Linked DNA regions of Homo sapiens: regions 1, 3, 4, 5 and 6 are each linked to region 2. Evidence: promoter capture Hi-C in human tissues and cell types (Jung and others, 2019). All regions are on one chromosome and are shown on one strand. The core of a region is centred on a gene start or on the middle of the fragment in contact, and the rest is flanking DNA. Distances in the headings are between cores, read along the strand shown. Region 1 overlaps ZNF700 (zinc finger protein 700). Region 2 holds the start of ZNF442 (zinc finger protein 442). Region 3 has its middle 9.3 kb from the start of ZNF69. Region 4 overlaps ZNF763 (zinc finger protein 763). Region 5 overlaps ZNF791 (zinc finger protein 791). Region 6 has its middle 7.1 kb from the start of ZNF700.

What was found. Contacts are between HindIII fragments. The study calls those that stand out against the background at their distance.
Region 1: a contact is called between a fragment that was not itself captured here and the fragment with the promoter of ZNF442 in region 2, in 2 of the 25 tissues and cell types used here (IMR-90 fibroblasts and mesenchymal stem cells).
Region 3: a contact is called between a fragment that was not itself captured here and the fragment with the promoter of ZNF442 in region 2, in 2 of the 25 tissues and cell types used here (dorsolateral prefrontal cortex and spleen).
Region 4: a contact is called between a fragment that was not itself captured here and the fragment with the promoter of ZNF442 in region 2, in 4 of the 25 tissues and cell types used here (IMR-90 fibroblasts, lymphoblastoid cells, mesenchymal stem cells and 1 more).
Region 5: a contact is called between a fragment that was not itself captured here and the fragment with the promoter of ZNF442 in region 2, in 4 of the 25 tissues and cell types used here (dorsolateral prefrontal cortex, heart left ventricle, lymphoblastoid cells and 1 more).
Region 6: a fragment that was not itself captured here is called in contact with the fragment with the promoter of ZNF442 in region 2 in 7 of the 25 tissues and cell types used here (adrenal gland, aorta, dorsolateral prefrontal cortex and 4 more).

What each region holds. Positions count from the first base shown.
Region 1 is chr19:11,949,726-11,953,734 of GRCh38, forward strand. ZNF700 (zinc finger protein 700) reads left to right here. Exons shown (of 4, transcript NM_144566.3): 4 at 1-1,038. The coding sequence ends at 528. It also overlaps a transcript of ZNF69 not described here and the pseudogene VN2R21P. Among named protein-coding and RNA genes, the nearest start is that of ZNF763, 13 kb to the right of the region's middle. RefSeq lists a silencer at 1-193. The HindIII fragment of the contact is 4,503 bases long and covers 1-4,009 here.
Region 2 is chr19:12,364,282-12,368,501 of GRCh38, forward strand. ZNF442 (zinc finger protein 442) reads right to left here and starts at 1,402. Exons shown (of 6, transcript NM_030824.3): 1 at 1,252-1,402; 2 at 521-962. RefSeq lists a silencer at 936-1,115 and an enhancer at 1,216-1,315. The HindIII fragment of the contact is 16,775 bases long and covers 1-2,407 here.
Region 3 is chr19:11,876,492-11,880,436 of GRCh38, forward strand. No RefSeq gene overlaps it. Among named protein-coding and RNA genes, the nearest start is that of ZNF69, 9.3 kb to the right of the region's middle. The HindIII fragment of the contact is 3,977 bases long and covers 1-3,343 here.
Region 4 is chr19:11,980,175-11,984,030 of GRCh38, forward strand. ZNF763 (zinc finger protein 763) reads left to right here. Exons shown (of 4, transcript NM_001367172.2): 4 at 1-443. It also overlaps a transcript of ZNF69 not described here. Among named protein-coding and RNA genes, the nearest start is that of ZNF433-AS1, 5.5 kb to the right of the region's middle. The HindIII fragment of the contact is 4,224 bases long and covers 1-3,856 here.
Region 5 is chr19:12,627,488-12,631,486 of GRCh38, forward strand. It overlaps ZNF791 (zinc finger protein 791), which reads left to right. Exons shown (of 4, transcript NM_153358.3): 4 at 234-3,999. The coding sequence ends at 1,773. Among named protein-coding and RNA genes, the nearest start is that of ZNF791, 19 kb to the left of the region's middle. The HindIII fragment of the contact is 6,065 bases long and covers 1-3,999 here.
Region 6 is chr19:11,916,105-11,919,985 of GRCh38, forward strand. It overlaps a transcript of ZNF69 not described here. Among named protein-coding and RNA genes, the nearest start is that of ZNF700, 7.1 kb to the right of the region's middle. The HindIII fragment of the contact is 7,505 bases long and covers 1-3,881 here.

The DNA of each region.
Region 1 (4,009 bases), core at 851-3,350, 410 kb before region 2:
CAATGTGGGAAAGCCTTCAGATCTGCCTCACACCTTCGAATGCATGAAAGGACTCACACTGGAGAGAAACCCTATGAGTGTAAGCAATGTGGGAAAGCCTTCAGTTGTGCCTCAAACCTTCGAAAGCATGGTAGGACTCACACTGGAGAGAAACCCTATGAGTGTAAGCAATGTGGGAAAGCCTTCAGATCTGCCTCAAACCTTCAGATGCATGAAAGGACTCACACTGGAGAGAAACCCTATGAATGTAAGGAATGCGAAAAAGCATTCTGTAAATTCTCTTCTTTTCAAATACATGAAAGGAAGCACAGAGGAGAGAAGCCCTATGAATGTAAGCATTGTGGGAATGGATTCACATCTGCCAAGATTCTTCAAATACATGCAAGAACACACATTGGAGAGAAACACTATGAATGTAAGGAATGCGGAAAAGCATTCAATTATTTTTCTTCCTTGCATATACACGCAAGGACTCATATGGGAGAGAAGCCATATGAATGTAAGGATTGTGGGAAAGCATTCAGCTAGCCTGGTTCCTTTTATGGACATGAATAGACTCACACTGGAAGGAAGCACTATGAATGCAAGCAATGTGGCAAAACTTTCACATTTTCCAGTTCTTTTCGATATCATGAAAGGACTCACACTGGGGAGAAACCCTATCAATGTAAGCAGTGTGGGAAAGCCTTCATTCCTTTTACTTCTTTTCAATGTCATGAAAGGACTCACACGGGAGAGAAACCCTATGAGTGTATTCTAGTTCCGTTTGATATCATGAAAGGACTTACACTGGAGTGAAACCCTATGAATGTAAGCAATGTGGGAAAGCCTTCAGATGTGCCTCGCACCTTCAACGGCATGGAAGGGTTCACACTTGGGAGAAACTCTATGAATGTAAGCAGTATGGGAAAGCCTTCAGATCTGCCAAGATTCTTTGAATACAGATAATTAATGTAAACAATTATCATAAGTATACTAACATGTTATTCTTTTTAAATAAGAAGGTATAATAAAATATCCCATTGGTTTTATGTATTAGATCAAGCTTATAATGTTACATTGTTATTATTTGGACATTGTGAGTCAGTATTACCATGTGGATAAAATGCCAGGCATCTTTTTCCTCATGGAAAGTTTACTTTTTGCACCGGGCACAGTGGCTCACGCCTGTAATCCCAGCACTTTGGGAGGCCAAGGCAGGCGGATCACGAGGTGAAGAGATCAAGACCATTCTGACCAACGTGGTGAAACCCTGTCTCTACTAAAAATACAAAAATTAGCTGGGCATGGTGGCGCGCACCGGTAGTCCCAGCTTCTCGGGAGGCTGAGGCAGGAGAATCGCTTGAACCTGGGAGGCGGAGGTTGCAGTGAGCAGAGATCACACCACTGCACTCCAGCCTGGCAACAGAGCAAGACTCCATCTCCAAAAAAAAAAAAAAAAAAGAAAGAAATTTTACTTTTCATGCTTATGTACTTATTTTTTATCTCAACCCTAATTTTGCTGGTTTTTGTTTTTTTTTTTTCTGATAGTCTCATTCTGTCGCCCAGGATAGAGTGCAGTGGCGCAGTCTCAGCTCACTGCCACCTCCGCCTCCTAGGTTCAAGTGATTCTCCTGCTTCAGCCTCCTGAGTAGCTGGGACTACAGGCGTGCCCCACCTCACCCAGCTAGTATTCGTATTTTTTTAGTAGAGATGGGATTTCACCATATTAGCCAGACTGGTCTCAAACTCCGGACCTCGTGATCTGCCCACCTCGGCTTCCTAAAGTACTGGGATTACAGACATGAGCCACTGGGCCCGGCCTCAACCCTAATTTTTCATTCACTCATTATGCCAAAAGTTATCTCATATACCTCTGAGTGCCTTCTTCCCCAAAACCACCAGTGCCATACCTGCTGTCAGCAAGGGTGTAATATACTGTAGTGGTAAATATGACCACAAGTCATAAATGACTGTGGGATGTATGAGAATTACAAGTCACATTAGTAAGAAGAGAAAAATTTTGGTCATGTTTATGATTTGAAATATGTTTTCTTTTATCACATTTAGAAATATAGTTATAAAATATTCTCTTTTTTTGTCCTGATCCATCATGGTCACTGAGGAGCATCGTCTCATATGCCCGGTATGTGACTTGTGTCTCTCCAATGGTAAAAGCCTTGGCCTTGGCCAGACACTGTGGCTCACGCCTGTAATCACAGCACATTGGGAGGCTGAGGCAGGCGGATCACCTGAGGTCAATACTTTGAGACCAGCCTGACCAATATGATGAAACCCCATCTCTACTAAAATTACAAAAATTAGCCAGGTGTGGTTGCATGCTCCTGTAATCCTAGCTAGTCAGGAGGCTGAGACAGGAGAATCGCTTGAATCTCGGGGGAGGGCAGAGGTTGCAGTGAGCCAAGATGGCGCCATTGCACTCCTGCATGGGCAACAAGAGTGAAACTCCATCTCAAAAAAAAAGACTTGGCCTTGTGATGAGGGGAGGTCAGCTCTAGACTCTTGGACCGGGTTTTGCCTTACTTATTCTCTAAAGACTAAAATATTTCCTAAAATGTATGGGCACTGTTTACTAGAAAGTACCTTAGTTAAAACATACAAATTCATTTATGCCTTATAAAGCTATATTTTTTCAAATTGTTTTACTAAGTCATAGGAAGCTAATACAGTTGTGTAAATTGTCTGAATACAAGCCTTTCTTTCTCTGATAATGTGCTGTTGATGCTAACTTGTCAACAGCCTGCTTATCTCAGCAGTGTAAAGTTAACAGCAACGTGGAAAAGTAACTTTTATATATTATGCAATGGCATAGAACAATTCAGTCACTTCCCTTAAGGTACCAATGAAGCTGCTCTTCAGAAACCCTTATTTAAAAAACACTGTCAAAATCCAGGCACCAAAGGATGCAGCATCAATCATTGACCAAACCCTATCTGTGTGTGGAGATGACATACCCAGTCTCAGATAATGCATCCTCATCAGTGAAGGGTGGAGTCATTGATTGTCAGATCACACAAAGTGACTCACAGCAGGGAAGACAGGGCAGTGGCAGAGATGGGGGCACCTGACCAGGTGCAGTGGCTCACACCTGTAATCCCAGCACTTTGGGAGGCTGAGGCAGGTGGATCACTTGAGGTCAGGAGTTGAAGACCAGCCTGGCCAACATGGTGAAACCCCATCTCTACTAAAAATACAAAAATTAGCTGGGCATCGTGGTGTGTGCCTGTAATCGCAGCTACTCAGGAGGCTGAGACAGGAGAATCACTTGAGCCTGGGAGGCAGATGTTACACTGAACTGAGATCACGCCACTGCACTCTCTAGCCTGATCAACAGAGCGAGACTCCATCACACACACACAAAAAAAATTAAAAAAGAGTTGGGTGCACCTGGATCTAACCCCTGTCTCATCCTTCTGCCTTGAAGGCCAAATGCACCCTGATACTTTTCACCAAAGAGTAGAAACACCACCATCCACTTGACCCCAAATGTGACTTTCCACAGGATGCAAGCACAGTGTTGGAATAGCCAAAGACAGTAACAATAGAAGTGCAGGGTGAGGGTGATGAACAGGACACACTGGAGAGCCTGACATTGGCCTAGACTACGGGGGTGTCTTGATCCTTCACAAAGAGCCCAAGGAGCAACCCAAAGAGACACTGGAGCACAGGCCCAAAGGGTGTTCATATGCCAGGAAGGCCACTAATTTTAGAAGGCAGTGATGTTGGTTCCTGTTGGAGTCCTGATCCTTTATAACATATGCTTTTCTGCATCTGGTTAGACAAGGAAATCTGCAATTTTTGACTTGCAGCATTTAGAAATAAGTTATTTTAGCAATCCACACACTCGTGGTTTATTCTGAACTAACTTGAGACAAACAGCTACAGATAGGGAATATCATGAGTATTTCCAAGACTAAAACTCTTCACAAAGTCAGTGGGACCCTCTCATGGGAGGGTTTTAAGACCCACAATAAAAAAGGTGGGGAAACATTGAGTGGAAAGAGGGCAG
Region 2 (4,220 bases), core at 152-2,651:
CTGTAATTCCAGCTACTCGGGAGGGTGAGACAGGAGAATTTCTTGAACCCGGGAGGCGGAGGTTGCGGTGAGCCGACATCGCACCATTGCACTCCAGCCTGGGCAACAAGAGCACAACTCCATCTCAAAAAAAAAAAAAAGAAAGAAAGAAAAAAAGAAGCCATCCATTGCTCTCTGAAAACAAAATGAAAATTAAAATACTGGGACTCTGAAATTTAGCACGGGTGGGGCGGAGGAGGGAGGAGTTCATGATGTTGCTGTGAACTGAGGAGGGAAAGTTAGCCTGCGTAAGGCTCTGGAAACCAAGGGAGTTACTACCACCCCTAGGAGGAGTTAGAATGAGGGAACAGGGTAGTGGATTTGAGACCCTGCTACCCCCATCTCTGAAAAACTCGAAGAGGAATCAGTCACCCTGGGAAGAAAAGAAGGGACTGGGGACCCCGCAGACCACAGCTCCTCCCGTGCACAAACCCCACGCAAGAATCTGGATTCTGATTGCAGTTAGATATTAACCAGGTACCCTGAGCCCCACTGCCTCGCGGGGGCCGCCTTCCTGAGAGTCAGGTCACAGAAGACACTGACCGCCGGCTTCTGCATTGTGCCTGGGGATAAGATCTCGGAGAGCTGCTCGAGTTGCCCAAGTTCTTTCTCAGATCTTGAATTCCAACGGAAAGGCTGGCGCCAAGCAGGGTGAAAACCCCACGAGGGAACCCACTCAGCAGGAGAATGCGGTTTCTTCACCTCCCGTCCCAGGATTCGCCTGTCACTTCCCCACCAACCAGCGACCCCACACTTCAGCCGCCCCTGTCCAGACCCCTAAACACCCCCATCCCCAAACCTCTCATGGAGGCGGAACTGGGGTCTTCTCTCCTCTCCCCCTATTAAACTGTTTCTGCTGCAGGCCTTGGAGTCTCGGTGCAGTGACTCGGACCGCGAACCTGTGCCGGTTACAGCCGCACAATCTGGGAAGACGCGGAGCTGTGGGCATGGAGCTGCCCCAGAGAGGGCGCGGGAGCCGGGGCCGCAGTTGCTGCGCAGAAACGGGACAGGACGCCCGGGGTCCCGGCTGCCGGCCCAGCCCCCAGCTCCCACCCCGCGGCCGAGGGGACTGAAGGCCGGCTGGGCCAGGGGAACTCGGGTCCACAGACCCCGCAGTCGCCGCGGGGACGCCCGGGTCCCGCCACAGCCGGTTCTGGCCGGTTCCAACCAGTCCTTCGCCCTGCCCCAGGACGCCGGGCCCCGCACACTCACCATTTCCCGGCTTCCGCGGTGTCCCGTGTTCTCCCCAAGGTTCCCCGCTGCCAGCATAGGACTCAGCGTGACAGTGCCTGCCACTGACCTGCCAGGGCTTCTCTCAGCTACAGAGCCAGGAGCGGGAGCTCAGAGGGGTGTAGAAAGCTCCACCCTCCTCCCGGCAGCGCGCCTGACTGGCAGTTCCCAAGAACTCGCCCCCAACACTGATTGGGTAGAGCTCCAAATTCCGCCCCCCCAGGGAACTGATTGACAGAAGAAGGATCTTACACGGCTGAGTGGAGCGAGATGAAGCGGTTCCAGACACAGCCCTTGATAGGGTGGGCTTCCTCCCTTCGCTGTGACCTGACCCCTCCCAGGGGACATTTGCATTTAAGCGGAATTTCCTGCCTGTACTCAATGGGCTCTTCCTGCTCCTTCTTCCTGGACGGGGACCCACAAGTGTGTGCTGGGAATTCGAGACTCACTGCCCAGTGGAGCCATCCCCTGGCCTCAGAGCGGTAGGGGAGGCCCAGGCCACACAAACCACACTGAAGCAGGAGGGAAGGCCTGGTGTCCTCCAGGGATCAGGAATTTAGGATGAGACTGCTGGCTCCATGGTCAAGCCTTTCTCCCACCTTATCTCCCAATCTACTCATTCTCAGACCAGAAAATAAAAACACATCAACAATGAAATAAAATTGTTAAATGCATGGAAAATCTGGAATTATATGGCAGTAATCTTCTATAAAGGAATCAAAAGAAGGGAAAAGAAAAAACCTGAATTAGTTCAGAGAAATTTCAGCCACAGTTCAGCAGGAAACCCCCTTTCAGGAGGTTAAACATATTTTCAAGCTTAGAAGGCAGATTCTGACTCCTGAAGTTGAGTCCCAGAGTGTGTAACCAGCAGCTTAGCAGCTGAGTCTCAAACCACGTTTTAAACCTTTTTTTTCTTCTTCTTTCCCTTTTCCTCTTTCCCCTCCTGATCTCAAGATAATAACTTCGAGATAAACTGCATAGATGTTACCTCTCATCTTAAAATACAGCCTCAGAATGTGCTGTGAACTTCCACTCCCTTTCCTTTCCCATACTACACTGCCATGCCTTATGCACATTTATTTTTATTTTATTTTTTTGGAGACGGAGTCTCACTCTGTCACCCAGGACAGACTGTAGTGGCTCAATCTTGGCTCACTGCAACCTCCGCCTCCCAAGTTGAAGCAATTCTCCTGCCTCAGCCTCCCGAGTAGCACACTGGACTACAGGTGCACGCTGCCATGCCCAGCTAATTTTTTTGTATTTTAGTAGAGACAGGGTTTCACCATGTTGCCCAGGCTGGTCGTGAACTCCTGAGCTCAGGCAATCCGCCGGCCTCGGCCTCCCAAAGTGTTAGGATTACAGGCGTGAGCCACCACGCCTGGCCTGTGCACATTTATTTACCTAAATACTTATTAAGCACACACCATGCTCTCTTATTTGGTCATATATTTCCTTAGAAGCTTCAGGGGTTGGATCTTGTTAGGTACCAGGCACCTCTGGAATTCTCTTTCCAACAAAAGATTACTTCAAAGACAGAACCCACACCCAGCTGAAGAGTGACTACTATCGGGGAAACCAGCCCCCAATATTTCAACGTAGGTTCTATTTTCCCTAAGTGTCGGCCCATCTGAGAAATTAAGAGAAAGAGTACAAAGAGAAGAATTTTACAGCTGGGCCTCCAGGGGTGACATCACATATCGGCAGGTTCCATGATGCCCACCTGGGCTGCAAAACCAGCAAGTTTTTATTAGGGATTCTAATAGGGGAGGGGGTGTACGAACAGGGAGTAAGTCACAAAGATCACATGCCTCAAAGGGCAATAAAAGATCACAAGGCAAAGGCAAAATTAGAATTACTGATGAGGGTCTGTGTCCTGCTGTGCATGCACTGTCTTGATAAACATCTTAACAGGAAACAGGGTTCGAGAGCAGACAACCAGTCTGACTAGAATTTACCAGGCTGGAACTTCCCAATCCTAGTAAGCCTGAGGGCACTGCAGGAGACCAGGGCGTATTTCAGTCCTTATCTCAACTGCATTAAGACAGATACTCGCAGAGCAGCCATCTATAGACCTACCCCCAGGAATGCATTCCTTCCCCAGGGTCTCAATTATTATTATTATATATATTTTTTTGAGACAGAGTCTCACGCTCTGTCCCCCAGGCTGGAGTGCAGTGGCACAATCTCGGCTCACTGCAACTTCTGCCTCCTGGGTTCACACTGTTCTCCTGCCTAAGCCTCCCAAGTAGCTGGGACTACAGGCGCGTGCCACCATGCCCGGCTAATTTTTTGTATTTTTAGTAGAGAAGGGGTTTCACCGTGTTAGCCAGGATGGTCTCGATCTCCTGATATTGTGATCCACCCGCCTCGGCCTCTCAAAGTGCTGGGATTACAGGCATGAGCCACCACACCTGGAAGGGTCTCAATTATTAATATTCCTTGCTGGGAAAAGAATTCAGTGATATTTCTCCTACTCACATGTCCGTCTATAGGCTCTCTGCAAGAAGAAAAATATGGCTTTATTCTGCCCAACCCCACAGGCAGTCAGACCTTATGGTTATCTTTCCTTGTTCCCAGAAAATCGCTGTTATTCTATTCTTTTTCAGGGTGCACTGATTTCATATCATTCAAATACAAATGTTTTACAAACAATTTGTACAGTTAATGCAATCATCACGGGGTCCTGAGGTGACATACATCCTTAGCTTACGAAGATAACAGGATTAAGAGATTAAAGTAAGACAGGCATAAGAAATTATAAAAGTATTAATTTTGGGAACTAATAAATGTCCATGAAATCTTCACAATTTATGTTCAGAGACTGCAGTAAAGACAGGCGTAAGAAATTATAAAAGTATTAATTTTGGAAACTGATAAATGTCCATGAAATCGTCACAATTTATGTTCTTCTGCCGTGGCTTCAGCCGGTCCCTCCATTCGGGGTCCCTTAG
Region 3 (3,945 bases), core at 105-2,604, 490 kb before region 2:
CATGCATTTTCATCCTTCATGCAATCATACAGCTACCTCGATGTCCCTTCTCTCTGCCATTCTGAAATTGGACCTCACTCCTTTGTGACTCTTGCTCCCCATCTGCTATGTGATAAAGTCCTGTCTGATTACATCGTCTCCAAAGCCTCTTTTTGGACTTCTGTTTACCCCTTGGCATGCCCTGCATTTACTCTCTTCAAAATATATACTTAGAGGCCGGGTGCGGTGGCTCACGCCTGTAATCTCAGTACTTTTGGATGCTGAGGCAGGAGGATCCCTTGTGCCCAGGAGTTTAAAACCAGCCTGGGTCACATAGGGAGACCCTGTCTCAAAAACAAAATTTATAGTTACAAGTCCTAAACCCCAACAGGGTCATATTTGGACACGGACCTTTTAGGAGATCACATACATTTATAAAGGAGGGCTCTCACAATGGGATTAGTAAGAGAGAGAGAGAACTCTGCCTCTCCAGCATGTAAGGACAAAGCAAGAAGGCATCTAGCTGCAAGCCAGGAAGATAGCCTTCACTAGGAACAAAATTGTTGGCAGCAAGATTTCAGACTTCCCAAGCTTCAGAACTGTGAAAAACAAATTTCTGCTGTTTAAGAAACTGAGTCCATGGTACTTTGTTATACTAGCCTGAGCTAAGTCACCCCAAGAGTCCTCACATTAACCATATACTGTCGTACAAGTGCTGCATTTGGATCTACCTGTAATGTCTCCAAATCTACTTTTCCTTTTGGACCCATTGTGAGAACAGGTTTGCCTCATAGACAACTGCTGGTGATATTAGTGATAGCCTACCAACTAGGGACTAAAAAGAAAGTTTTTCTTTTTTTTTTTTCTTGCTTTTTTTTTTGAGATGGAGTTTTTGCTCTGTTACCCAGGCTGGAGTGCAATTATGCAATCTCGGCTCACTGCCAGTTCTGACTCCCAGGTTCAAGTGATTCTCCTGCCTCAGCCTCCCAAGTAGCTGGGTTTACAGGTGCGTGCCACCACATCCAGATAATTTTTGTACTGTTAGTTAGAGATGGGGTTTCAACATGTTGGCCAGGTGGTTCTCGAACTCTTGACCTCAGGTGATCCACCTGCCTTGGCCTCCCAAAGCACTAGGATTACATGCATAAACCACCACACTCGGCCTCTCATTCATATGTGTGTGTATATTCTGTTTTTAATAAAAATAGAGACTAGGCCTATGTTGCCCCGTGTGGTCATAGCCCAAACTTTTGGGCTCAAGCGATTTACTCACCTCAGCCACCCAAAATGCTGGGATTAAGGCATGAGAAACTGTGCCAGGGCAAATGAAAGAAACTTAGTGGGAGGCCAGGCACGGTGGCTCACACCTGTAATCCCAGCACTTTGTGGGGCTGAGGCGGGTGGATCACCTGAGCTCAGGAGTTCAAGACCAGCCTGGACAACATGGTGAAACCACATCTCTACTAAAAATACAAAAAAATTAGCTGGGCATGGTACTCCCATTCTCACAGTCATGCAAAGGCTCTTTCTTAAGGATTCCACCTGCTGGAAAGCATTATATACTGCCTGCACTGACTCAAGAGTGTCTGGTTTCATCTCCATGTCATAATTACAACCACAATCCTAAAGGGACTGATTTACCACACTGTGGTTGCCGTAAGTCCCAAATTGTACCCTCAGCAGCAACTATATCATCCCAAGTCACAGCTCTACCCTCTAAAGGTGTGCCTGAGGCTTGTGCCTGCCATACTAACACATTAACCTGTCCAAAGCTTCCTTCAGAGCTGTGTCCCAGTCCCAAAGTGCCCCTTTCTAAAACATTGGGCTAAGTGTCAGATAAATGCTCTCCAATAATCCAAAGACCAACAAATGTCTGGATTTTTTTTCTTAAGAGAAATAGTATGGCTCTGTTTCCCAGGCTGGAGTGCAGTGGTGGGATCATAGCTCACTGTAGAAACTCGGGCTCAAGGGATCCTCCTGCCTCAGCCTCACAAGTAGCTGGGAGTAAAGGCACATGCCACTATGCCCGGCTGTTTTTAAATTTTTTGTACAGATGGAGTCTCACTCTATTGCCCAGGCTGTTCTTGAACTCCAAGGCTCAAGTGATCCTCCCACCTCAGCCTCCCAAAGTGCTGAGATTACAGTTATGAACCAATGCACCCAGAACTCAAAAAGGAATATTTATAAGGGAAAATATCTAATGTTCAAATTGTTATGTATAGAGCAGTTAACGGGAACTATCATTTAGGGTCTATGGGATTCTAGGACACTAGGTATGAAACAAATATGAGGAAGGTCAGAGAACAAGCTGACTTGATGATTAATGCTGAAGGTGCCGCAAGCTTGGTTTAAGTTTTCCTCCTCCCATCCTCCCTGATGAATTTGATAAAGTTTAAAGGGATGGTTTCACCGGGGGCTTTTTCCACTGACTGCAAGGAGGTGATCCCGCTTGGTAAATCTTCAGTAGGCCAAGCCTCTTACGTGGCTAGAATGATCCAGTCCATAAGGAAATGTCACCACCTGCTGTATTTTACACTTTGACCATCAAAGGGGTACAGGGTTTCCCCAGGGAGTTTGGTGGGATTTTAATTTTTTGTTTGTTTGTTTTGAGACAGTGTCTTGCTGAAGCGCAGTACCCAATTATAGCTCACAGCAGCCTCAAACTTTGGGGTTCAAGTGACTCTCCTGTCTCAGCCTCCTGAGTAGCTGAGACTGTAGGTACACACACTTCTCCTTGGTAATTAAAAATTTTTTATGGAGATGGGAGGGTCTCACTTCACGGCTCAGGGTGGTCTCCAATCTCGGGCTTCAAGCGATCCTCCCACTTTGGCCTCCCAAAATGTTGGGATTACAGGCGTGAGCCATGGCACCCGGCCTCCCAGGCTGTTGTTTGAAGGTCTTTGCAATCTCTAAGAGTTCTGCAGCAATTTATTCCCTGACAGTGAGAGTCTCATCCTTTGACCCCATTTTGCCGCAGTAGCTGAACGTTCACTTTTCTTTCCATAAGGGGGCGAGCTTGCCAGTGACCCTAATCCCTCTCCTCATCGATGACTTCTTTGTCATCAGAGCCTTCCTCTTCATAAATTCCCACGGAATCCAAGTTTTCACGTCCCAATCGGGCTTAGTTATGATAGCCACAGGCCCACACCAGCTGCCACAGCACCCCTGTCCCATGGAAACCGCCTGACTCTCTTCTCCCCAAGCGTCCTGTCCCAGGAGCCCCCATCATCTCTGCTCCCCCGGGCTCCAGGCCCTAGAGCCGCGCTGCTGCAGAGCCCGGTTCCCAGGGCTGCTCCCTCCATATATCCACATTCATCTCCAGCTCTCCACCCTCTCTCCAACCAGCCAGGCCCGGAGGTACTGCAGTGTCACTGAACGTGCGTCCCTCAGCTGCCACCTCCACCACGATCTGGAAATCTTTTAAATGCACTTAAGTTATCTTAGAATTTTCCTTCCCCACTTTATACATAAACATAGGAGGAGAGCAGGGACTCTGCTGGTGTCTTATTCACACAATGGGATTGAGGGTGTTTGTGTCATGGAACTGATCAATGGGGTGAGAAGTAGCTGAATAACCTGCAGGGGGCAGCAGAGCCCGAGGCCGGTGACTCAACGCTGAGGCCAGTGTGGAGCCTGCAAAGGAAGGGAAAGGAGCCTTTCCTGGGGGCTTCCGGGCAGCCCGCCCTCCCCTACAGGTGGCCTCCAATTGCTCAGAGCAGCTCCAGAAGGAGTGCGGATTCCGAGAAGCTGAAGAGCCCTGGAAAGCAGAAGACCCACATGCACACGTATGTGTGGGGGTTCTGTCCTTTCTGGTGTTGTACCTCTGGAGCCTGGGGCTGTCTTCTGGGCAGGGTTTGGGGTTTGACATGCATGGGGCCACTGGGGTCAGATTTGTAAGATACAGTGAATTTCTTTAAGTTTTTCTTTAAAGATTTAGCCTGCTAACTTCCTCGTCTTTTGTTCTCA
Region 4 (3,856 bases), core at 827-3,326, 380 kb before region 2:
TTCAAGACTGGCCTGATCAATATGATGAAACCCCTGTCTCTACTAAAACTACAAAAATTGGCCAGGCGTGGTGGCCTGCTTCTGTAATCCTAGCTAGTTGGGAGGCTGGCACAGGAGAATCGCTTGAATCTGGGGGGCAGAGGTTGCAGTGAGCCAAGATTGTGCCATTGCACTCTAGCCTGGGCAACAGGAGCAAAACTCCGTCTCAAAAAAAAAAAAAAAAAAGACTTGGCCTTGTGGTGAGGGGATGTCAGCTCTAGACTCCTGGAGCTGTTTTTGCCTTATTCTCTAAAGACTAAAATATTTCATAAAATGTATGGGTGCTGTTTACCAGAAAGTACGTTGGGTAAAACATAGAAATTCATTTATACCTTAGAAAGCTATTTTTTTCAGGTTGGTTTAGTGAGTCACAGGAAGCTAATAAATTACAATAATAATGTAAATTGTCTAAATACAGCCTTTTCTTTCTCTGATAATGTGCTGTTGATACTAACTTGTCAACAGCCTGTTTATTTCAGCCATGTAAAGTTAATGGCAACATGGAAAAGTCACTTTTATATGTTATGCAATGGCATGGAAAAATTCATTTTCATTAAGGTTCCAATGAAGCTGCTCTTCAGAAACGCTTATTTAAAACTCCCTAAGGTCAAAGTCCAGGCATCACGGGATGCAGCATCAATCACTGACCAAACCCTGTCTGTGTGTGGAGATGACATACCCAGTCCCAGATAATGTATCCACATCAGTGAAGGGTGGAATCATTGATTGTCAGATCACACAGCATGATTCACAGCAGGGAAGACAGGGCAGTGACAGAGGTGGGGGCACCTGAGCAGGTACGGTGGCTCACACCTGTAATCTTAGCACTTTGGGAGGCCAAGGAGAGTGGATCACTTGAGGTCAGGAGTTCAAGACCAGCCTGGCCAACATGGTGAAACCTTAAGAAATAGATAAATTAGCTGGGCATCGTGGTGTAATCCCTGTAATCCCAGATACTCAGGAGGCTGAGGCAGGAGAATCGCTTGAGCCTGGGAGGTGGTTGTTACACTGAACTGAGATCACACCATTGCACTCTCCAACCTAGTCGACAGAGCAAGACTCTGTCTCAAAATGAAAAAAACAAGAGTTGGGTGCACCTGAATCCAACCCCTGCCTTATCCTCCCTTGAAGGCCAAATACACCCTGACACTTTTAACCAAACAGTAGAAACAACACCATCCACTTGACCCCAAATGTGACTTTCCACAGGATGCAAGCACAATGTTGGAATGGCCAATGACAGTGACAATGAAAGTGCAGGGTGAGGGTGATGAACAGGACACACTGGAGAGCCTGACATTGGCCTAGACTATGGAGGTGTCTTGATGTTTCACAAAAAGCCCAAGGACCAACCCAAAGAGACACTGGAGCACAGGCCCAAAGGGTGTTCATATGCCAGGAAGGCTACTAATTTTAGAAGGCAGTGATGGTGCCTGTTTGAGTCCGGATGCTTTATAACTTCTGCTTTTCTGCATCTGCTTAGACAAAGAAATCTGCAGTTTTTGAGTTTCAGTGTTTAGAAGTAAGTTATTTTAGCAATCTACACACTTGTGGTTTATTCTGAGCTAACTTCAGACACACAGCTACAGATAGGGAATATCACGAGTATTTCCAAGGCTAAAAGTCTTCATGAAGTCAGTGGGACCCTCTCATGGGAGGGTTTTAAGACCCACAATCAAAAAGGTGGGGAAACATTAGAGTGGAAAGAGGGCAGCAGGTCAGGGGCCTTCCCCAGAGGTCTAACACACCCAACATTATTACCCTGGATGAAAACCAATACATATCATAACACCACACACACTCTTCAATGTTTCACAGACAAAATGAAATGTATTCAAAGCTAAGCTTCCAGAATTCCACTTTACACAATAAGGTTTTAATATCACTCTGTGTTGATGTTAGGCAATTACTAAATAGCATTTTCTGGTTATCTATGGAAAATACCTTGATTTCTGGGATATGAAAATGCTCATTTTTAGATATGCTTGTTTTTGAACTTTTTTTAATAAAATAAGGTGAGAAAACAGGAAAAAAATTTTCAGATCAAGGAACTTAGGCGAATTAATAGGAGAAAAGTCATACAAATTTATTTAACATGTATATATGGGAGCCTTCAGAATGAGGACCCACCCAACAATAAGACAAAAAAGCTTACATACCATTCTGAGGCCAGGAAAAATGCAGACTTGGCATGGCCAAAAAAATTCCAGGTTTGGTGGGGAAGTCATTTTTAATGGCAAGACAGATTATGCTAAAGGAAAGGAAGAAGCTTGGCTAGCAAAGGAGACCTTGTTATGTAGATGAAGGCTCCCTCAGAGAGAATAGGTGGGAAATGCTGCTTTTCAGACTTTTATTTAGAATTTTAAGTAATAGAGTCAGGATTATGCTGTGTTGCCCAGGCTGTTCTCTAATTCTTTGTCTCAAGCAGTCCTCACAGCTCAGTCTCCCAAAGTGCTAGGATTCCAGGCATGAGTCACCATGTCCAGACAGGGTTTGTCCCCTTGTAAAGAATTATTCATTGCTGGGCACAGTGATTCACAGTGACGTCTGCCTGGCATCTGCCTGTAAAGGAAGCATGGCACCAGCATCTGCTCAGCTTCTGGTGAAGGCCTCAGGAAGCTTTCAATCATAGCGGAAGGTGAACGGGGAGCAGGCAGTCACATGGCGAAAGCAGGAGTGAGACAGAGAGAGTGGTGTAGGAAGGTGCAGCTCACTAGAACTCACTGATTATCACAAAGACAGCAACAAGCCATGAGAGAAACAAGCCATAGGTCCCCCTGACCCAAACAACTCCCATCAGGACTCACCTCCAACACTGGGGATTGCAGTTCCTCATGACATTGGGTGGGAACATACATTCAAACTATCACGTGACAATATTACTTCCCTCAGTTTATTAAAGAACAAGTGTTTCTAGCTCTTCAGTGCTGTTCAGTGATTTGGAATATGGACAGGGAAAACTTTGATAAATCAGGAATGGCTGCAGTGAGCCATGAACATAGAATCTAATAATTTTTAAACTAATTTTATAATAGCTGGGCATGGTGGCTCATGCCTGTGGTTCTAGCACTTTGAGAGGCCAAGGTGGGTGGATGACTTGAACCCAGGAGTCTGAGAACAGCCTGGGCAACATGGTGAAACCCTATCTCTACAAACTTTTTAGCCAGGATGGTGACATGCACCTGTAATCCCAGCTACTTGAGAGGCTGCAGTAGGAGAATCACCTGAACCCAAGAGGTTGAGGCTGCAGTGAGCTGTGATCATGCCATTGCACTCCAGCCTGGGTGATAGAGTGAGACCCTCATCTCCAAAAAAAACCCCATAATTTTATAATCAGGACTATTTTTTATGGATCTGTATTTTAAGAAAAAAATGGAAAGACCAGATCATTGAAGATCAGTACAAAAATCTCAGGAATAATCTAAGGTAAGTTTCCCTCACAAGATAAAGCATTCTCTCTCTAGAAAATCTTATACTGCCTGAAAATGTTTTGGTTTTTTTGGAGACAAGAGTTTCACTCTTGTTGCCCAGACTGGAGTGCAATGGCTCAATCGCGGCTCATCGCAACCTCCGCCTCCCAGGTTCAAGTGATTCTCCTGCCTCAGCCTCCCAAGTAGCTGGGATTACAGGCGCCCACCACCACGTCTGGCTAATTTTGAATTTTTAGTAGAGATGGGGTTACTCCATGTTGGTCGGGCTGGTCTCGAACTCCTGTCCTCAGGTGATCCGCCTGGCTTGGCCTCCCAAAGTGCTGCAATTACAGGCGTGAGCCATTGTGCCCGGCTGAAAATGTTTAAAATATGCAAATAAAAGAAAT
Region 5 (3,999 bases), core at 1,371-3,870, 260 kb after region 2:
TGGTGGCGCATGCCTGTAATCCCAGCTACTTGGGAGGCCGAGGTAGGAGAATTGCTTGAAGCTGGGAGGTGGAGGTTGCAGTGAGCTGAGATCGCACCATTGCACTCCAGCCTGGGGAACAAGAACAAGACTCCGTCTCAAAAAAGAAAAAAGAACTTTAGTTCTACTACCCGATAATACATATAAAATCATTAATACACAACCAGTATTACCGTGCTTCTAATTTTTTACAGAAGCCATACGGGAGAGAGACTCTGTGAAGGTAAAGAAGGTAGTCAATGTGCAGAAAACTTCAGTCCCAATCTCAGTGTGACGAAGAAGACTGCCGGAGTAAAACCATATGAGTGTACTATCTGTGGAAAAGCCTTCATGCGTCTCTCATCCCTTACTAGACACATGAGGTCTCACACTGGATACGAGCTATTTGAGAAGCCATATAAATGTAAGGAGTGTGAGAAAGCCTTTAGTTATCTCAAATCCTTTCAAAGACATGAAAGGAGTCACACTGGAGAAAAACCCTATAAATGTAAACAATGTGGAAAAACCTTCATATATCACCAGCCCTTTCAAAGACATGAGCGGACTCACATTGGAGAAAAACCCTATGAATGTAAGCAATGTGGAAAAGCTCTTAGTTGTTCCAGTTCGCTTCGAGTTCATGAAAGGATTCACACTGGAGAAAAGCCCTATGAATGTAAACAATGTGGGAAAGCCTTCAGTTGTTCCAGTTCTATTCGAGTACACGAAAGAACTCACACTGGAGAGAAACCCTATGCATGTAAGGAATGTGGGAAAGCCTTCATTTCCCACACAAGTGTTCTAACACACATGATAACACACAACGGAGATAGACCTTATAAATGCAAAGAATGTGGAAAGGCATTCATTTTTCCCAGTTTTTTACGAGTACATGAAAGAATTCACACTGGAGAGAAACCCTATAAATGTAAACAATGTGGTAAAGCCTTCAGATGTTCCACCTCCATTCAAATTCATGAAAGAATTCATACTGGAGAGAAGCCCTATAAATGTAAAGAATGTGGGAAATCTTTCAGTGCACGCCCAGCCTTTCGAGTACACGTGAGAGTGCATACTGGAGAGAAACCCTATAAGTGTAAAGAATGTGGGAAAGCCTTTAGTAGAATCAGTTACTTTCGAATACATGAAAGGACTCACACTGGAGAGAAACCCTACGAATGTAAAAAATGTGGGAAAACTTTCAATTATCCTCTAGATTTGAAAATCCACAAGAGAAATCACACTGGAGAAAAACCCTATGAGTGTAAGGAATGTGCAAAAACCTTCATTTCTCTTGAGAACTTTCGAAGACACATGATCACCCACACTGGAGACGGACCTTATAAATGTAGGGACTGTGGGAAGGTGTTCATTTTTCCTAGTGCGTTACGAACACATGAAAGAACTCACACTGGAGAGAAACCCTATGAATGTAAACAATGTGGAAAAGCCTTTAGTTGTTCTAGTTACATTCGGATACATAAAAGAACTCACACTGGGGAGAAACCTTATGAATGTAAGGAATGCGGGAAGGCCTTTATTTATCCCACAAGCTTTCAAGGACACATGAGAATGCATACTGGAGAGAAACCCTATAAATGTAAAGAATGTGGGAAGGCCTTTAGTCTTCACAGTTCCTTTCAAAGACATACAAGAATTCACAATTATGAGAAACCTCTTGAATGTAAGCAATGTGGAAAAGCCTTCAGTGTGTCCACATCCTTAAAAAAACATATGAGAATGCACAATCGATAGAAACTCTATAAATGTGAGAAATAGGAGAAAGTTTTCAATTCTAACAGATGCTTTCAAAGTTGTGAAAATTCCCACTGAAGAGAGAAATCCTGTCAATGTAAGTAATATAGAAAGCGAGATACAAGATGATTCATGTATAGTCAGGTACCACATAATCATGTTTCAGTCAGCAATGGACCATATAGGTTGGTAGCCCCATAAGATTATATAACACCTAAAACATTTCTATCAACCGCAATTTAGTAGCAGTAGTAACACCATAGTGCAGCACATTATTTAAGTGTTTATGGTGCTGGTGTAAACGTGCTGCACTTTCAGTTGTATAAAAGTACAAGACAGCGGCCGGGGACGGTGGCTCACGCCTGTAATCCCAGCACTTTGGGAGGCCAAGGCGGGCGGATCACGAGGCCAGGAGATCAAGACCATCCTGGCTAACACGGTAAAACCCCATCTCTACTAAAAATACAAACAATTAGCCGGGCGTGGTGGTGGGCGCCTGTAGTCCCAGCTACTTGGGAGGCTGAGGCAGGAGAATGGCATAAACCCAGGAGGCCGAGCTGACAGTGAGCTGAGATCCGGCCAACAGAGCGAGACTCTGTCTCAAAAAAAAAAAAAAAAAAAAAGTACAACACAGCTGGGCATGGTCACACCTGTGATCCCAACACTGGGAGACTAAGGCAGTAGGATTGCTTGATGCCAGGACTACTCTGGTCAACCTAGTGAGACCCTGTCTCTACAAAAAATAAAAACATTTTCTAAGTGTGGTAGCACACCCTGTAGTCCCATCTACATGGGAGGCTGAGGCAGGAGGATTGCCTGAGCCCAGGAGTTCAAGGCTACAGTGAACCAAGATCACGTGATGGCAGTCCAGCATGGGTGACAGTGAGACTGTATCAAAAAAAAAAAAAAAAAATTGGCTGGGCACAGTGGCTCATACCTGTAATCCCAGCACTTTGGGAGGCTGAGGTGGGAGAATCAGTTGAGGTCAGGAGTTCAAGACCAGCCTGGTCAACATGATGAAACCCTGTCTCCATTAGAAATACGAAAATTAGCTGGGCGTTCTGGTGTGCCTGTAGTCCCAGCTACTTGGGAGGCCAAAGCAGGAGAATCGCTTGAACCCGGGAGGTGGAGATTGCAGTGAGCTGAGATCTACCACTACACTCCAGCCTGGGTGACAGAGCGAGACTCCGTCTCGAAAAAAAAAAAATTACAGCACAGATGTGCAATATATACTTGATAATAAATGGCTAAGTTACTGGTTTATATATTTACAATCCTGTTTTAGAATGTATTCCTGTGTTTTTTTAACAGTAAGACAGTCTCAGGCAGGTCCTTAAGGAGATATTCCCGGAAAAACTTTGTTATGATAGGCGATGACGGCTCCATGTGCAGGACTGCCCCTGAACGTATTCTGGCGGGACAAAACATGGAGGCAGAAGACAATGATATTGATGATCCTCACCCCGTGTAGTCCTACACTAATGTGTGTTTGTGTCTTAGTTAGTCTTTAACAAAAATAGTTTAAAAAAATTTAATAGAAAAAGCTTATAGAATATGGACATAAAATATTTTTGTACAGCTGTACAATGTGTTTTAAGCTAAATTATTACAAAGTTTTTAAAAATAAGTTTATAAAGAAAATAATGTACAGTAAGTTAAGGTTTATTCATTATTGAGGAAAAAATGTTTTTATGAATGTAGTGTAGTCCAAGTGTACAGTGTTTATAAATTCTCCATTAGTGTACAGTAACATCCTGGGCCTTCGCATTCACTCACCACTCAACTGACTCACCCAGAGCAACTTCTAGTCCTGCAAGCTATGTTCATGGAGTGTCCTATGCAGGTGCATCCTTTTTTATCTTTTATACTGCATGTTTACTCTGTGTATTTTCTGTGTTTAGACTCATAAATACTTAACATTTTGTTACAATTTCCTACAGTGTTCAGTACAACAACATGTTGTATGGTTTATAGCCTAGTAGCAATAGACTGTACCATATAGTCTAGATGTGTTGTAGCTATACCATCTAGATTTGTGTAAGTTCACTTTGTGATGTTTGTACCATGAGGAAATCACCTACAACACGTTTCTCAGAACATATACCCATGATTAAGCAATCTCTGCCTGTAAAATGCTCCAGAAAATTCACACCATGATATAAATTCATCACACACGATATAAAAGTTAAGGCAAGGCATGGTGGCTCATGCCTGTAATCCCAGCAC
Region 6 (3,881 bases), core at 1,039-3,538, 450 kb before region 2:
TTTTCCAGACATTCTAGTGAAACAAATGTGGGTTTAGGTAAGAAATAACTTTTAATTCTAGACCTTGAAGCCAGCTTGTCATTAAAACAGTTCATAACAAAAAAGTCTAGGTACTGAACTTGTAAGTAAAAATAGAAATATTAAATAAATATCTTAAAAGATATTAAATAAATACATAAAATGTGCTTGTATATAGGCTTAGAAGGGGTCAGTCAAAAATTCAGGGGCCGCTGGGCAGATTGGCTCATGCCTGTAATCCCAGCACTTTGGGAGGCTGAGGCAGGCAGATCACTTGAGGTCAGGAGTTCAAGACCACCCTGGCCAGCATGGTGAAACACCATCTCTATGAAAAATATAAAAATTAGCTGGGTGTGGTGGCACACACCTGTAACACCAGCTACTCTGGTGACTGAGGCATGAGAATCACTTGAACCAGGGAGGCGGAGGTTGCAGTGAGCCAAGATCATGCTACTGCACTCCAGCCTGGGCTACAGAACAAGACTGTCTCAAAAAAAGAAAAAAGTTCAGGGACCTGGAGGAAGGAGAGAAACTGAAGCATGCTTTGGTAGATAGATATTTCATTTTGACTAAAGATCACTAAAGAGAAAACTGTTCACCTAATGGTTTGTGAGGTAAATACTGGAATATCTAGTGGGTGTCTGGTTTGTCATAGGTAACAAACGTAGCACCATCTAAGTCATCATGGGAAGCTTGTTTCATTGTAGTAAGGTGCTCTTGCACAACACAAAGGATGGGGGATTTCATGAATCACAGCCATTTTCAGGATTGCCCACCCACCCCCATCTCCTTTCCACACCCCTTACTCTTTTTCTATCCATGTCTTTGATTTGACTCGTCCTGAGTTGTATCCTTCATAGTAAGTGGGTAAATGTAAGTGAACTGTGGGTAGTTCTATCAAATTATGGAACTTGAGTAAGGTGTTGTACAGGACCCAGGTCTAGATGCAGTTGCTGAGAAGTACAGGTGGCCCCTGGGGCTTTGACTTGCATCTGCCAAGTGGGGCTGTGTTGGGTGAGCCAGGAACTCATGGAGTCTCTGCTAACTCTGGGTGGCTTCTGAATTGCATGGTTACATAACTGCTTAGTGCTGGAGAATTGATTGGTGTTCAGCAAGCACCACACATTTGATGTCAGGCAAAAAGACAGCATAGGTCAGAACCTTCCACTGACTCACAGTGAGCGAGTGGTCTTTGGTGGGCATTGAGACCCTGGTGGAAGGACTGTGTCCACACTGTGGGGAGGGGCCAGCAGGGTGTGTGTGGAATTCCCAGAAGTAATTTTCTGACTGCTCACATTTCCTTCACACACTACCTAGGAGTGGGCCAGCCTGGCCTGTGTCTCCACGGTCCAAGTGGTTCCTAAGCTTGAAAATGTGTAACTATTGGAGTGTGGGTTTCCTTGTGAGCTGTGGGTGAGGCAGGCTGCCTACCTGAGCTGCCTCCCTTTTGTTTTTTTACAGAATCTTGCTGCCATGGAATTGCTCTTTCCCCACGCATCTGAGAATTTATTTATTTGTTTGTTTGTCTATTTTTCAGATAGAATCTCACTCTGTGGCCAAGGCTGGATCAGTGGCGTGATCTCGGCTCACTGCAACTTGCCTCCCAGATTCTCCTGGCTCAGCCTCCTGGGTAGCCGGGACTGCTGGCACAAGCCACCACACCCTGCTTTTTTTTTTTTTTTTTTGAGACAGTCTTGCTCTGTCACCCAGGCTGGAGTGCAGTGGCAGGATCTCGGCTCACTGCAACCTTTGTCTCCTGGGCTCAAGCAACTGTCCTACCTCAGCCTCCTGAGTAGCTGGGATTATAGGCACCTGCAACCACACTCAGCTAATTTTTGCATTTTTAGTAGAGACGGTTTCACCATGTTGTCCAGGCTGGTCTCGAACTCCTGACCTCAGGTGATCCACCCGCCTCGGCCTCCCAAAGTGCTGAGATTACAGGCATGAGCCACCATGCCCAGCCTATCTCTTGATCTTATTGACAATGCTTTTCTTGTTTTTATTCCTAACTGGAAATACAACACAAAGTTTTACACATTGGGAAATAATTGCTGGGTTGTAGATTATGGGTAAATTCAAATTTACTAGGAAATGTCAGTACAGTATGAATGTAACTTATGAATTAACCATCTCACCTTTCATGCACGTGCCTTTATTCTTGTGATTTGCCAACACTTTGAATTATCTAACTCACTTTTCGTCGCCCATTTACTCTTAAACAGAATCTCTGTGTGATTATTTATTGCTTTTTATTTGTTGCCATTGGTTGAGCATTTTTCTTATATAATCTTTCATCTTCTGTGTAGCAGTATCCAGTCATCCTCTTACATTTGACTAATTTGTAGTTATCTCTCTTTTTCTCCTCGTTTTCTTTTATTTTAATTTGAGACATCCTTGCTCTGTAGCCCAGCTGGAGTGCAGTGTTCTGGTCACTCACTGCAGCATCAAGCTCCTGGGCTTGAGCAATCCTCCCACCTCGGCTTTCTGCCCAGCTAATTTTCAAAAATTTTTTGTAGAGACAAGGGTGTCACGGTTTTGCCCAGGCTGGTCTCGAACTCCCGGGCTCAATCAATCCTCTTGCCTCGGCCTCCCAAAGTGCTAGGATTGCAGACATGATCCACCATGCTCAGCAATTAGGGTTTTTTTTTTAAAACCAAGATATCTGTACATGTTTCTGACAAATATTTTATTTAAAATCTTTAACAACTGCATACTAACCAAGGTTATTCTGTTTTTCATTTTCTGTTTTCCATTTTCATTATGATTACTTGTTTTTCTTTTTTTTTTTTTTGAGACGGAGTCTCGCTGTGTCGCCCAGGCTGGAGTGCAGTGGTGCGATCTCCGCTCACTGCAACCTCCGCCTCCCGGGTTCACGCCATTCTCCTGCCTCAGCCTCCTGAGTAGCTGGGACTACAGGCGCCCGCCACCACGCCCGGCTAATTTTTTGTATTTTTAGTAGAGACGGGGTTTCATCGTGTTAGCCAGGATGGTCTCAATCTCCTGCCCTCGTGATCCGCCTACCTTGGCCTCCCAAAGTGCTGGGATTACAGGCGTGAGCCACCGCGCCTGGCCCCTTGTTTTTCTTTTTTATTCTCATTTTTTCCTAGATAATTACAATACTTTTCCATGTAGTGGCTCTGGCAGCATTTTCATCCTTCATGCAATCATACAGCTACCTCGATGTCCCTTCTCTCTGCCATTCTGAAATTAGACCTCACTCCTTTGTGACTCTTGCTCCCCATCTGCTATGTGATAAAGTCCTGTCTGATTACATCGTCTCCAAAGCCTCTTTTTGGGCTTCTGTTTACCCCTTGGCGTGTCTTGTATTTACTCTCCTCAAAATATATACTTGGAGGCCAGGTGTGGTGGCTCACTCCTGTAATCCCAGTATTTGGGAGGCCGAGGCATGAGGATCCCTTGAGCCCAGGAGTTTAAAACCAGCCTGGGCCACACAGGGAGACCCTGTCTCAAAAACAAAACTTATACTTGCAAGCCCTAAACCCCAACATGGTCATATTTGGACACGAACCCTTTAGGAGATCACATACATTTATAAAGGAGGGCTCTCACAATGGGATGAGTAAGAAGAGAGAGAGAACTCTGTCTCTCCAGCATGTGAGGACACAGCAAGAAGTCATCTAGCTGCAAGCCAGGAAGACACTCTTCACTAGGAACAAAATTGCTGGCAGCAAGATGTTGGACTCCCGAAGCTCCAGAACTGTGAGAAAAAAATTCTGCTGTTTAAGAAACTGAGTCCATGGTATTTTGTTATACCAGCCTCAGCTAAGTCATCCCAAGAGTCCTCACATAAATCATATACTATCGTATATGATATCGTGCTGCATTTGGATCTACCTGGAATG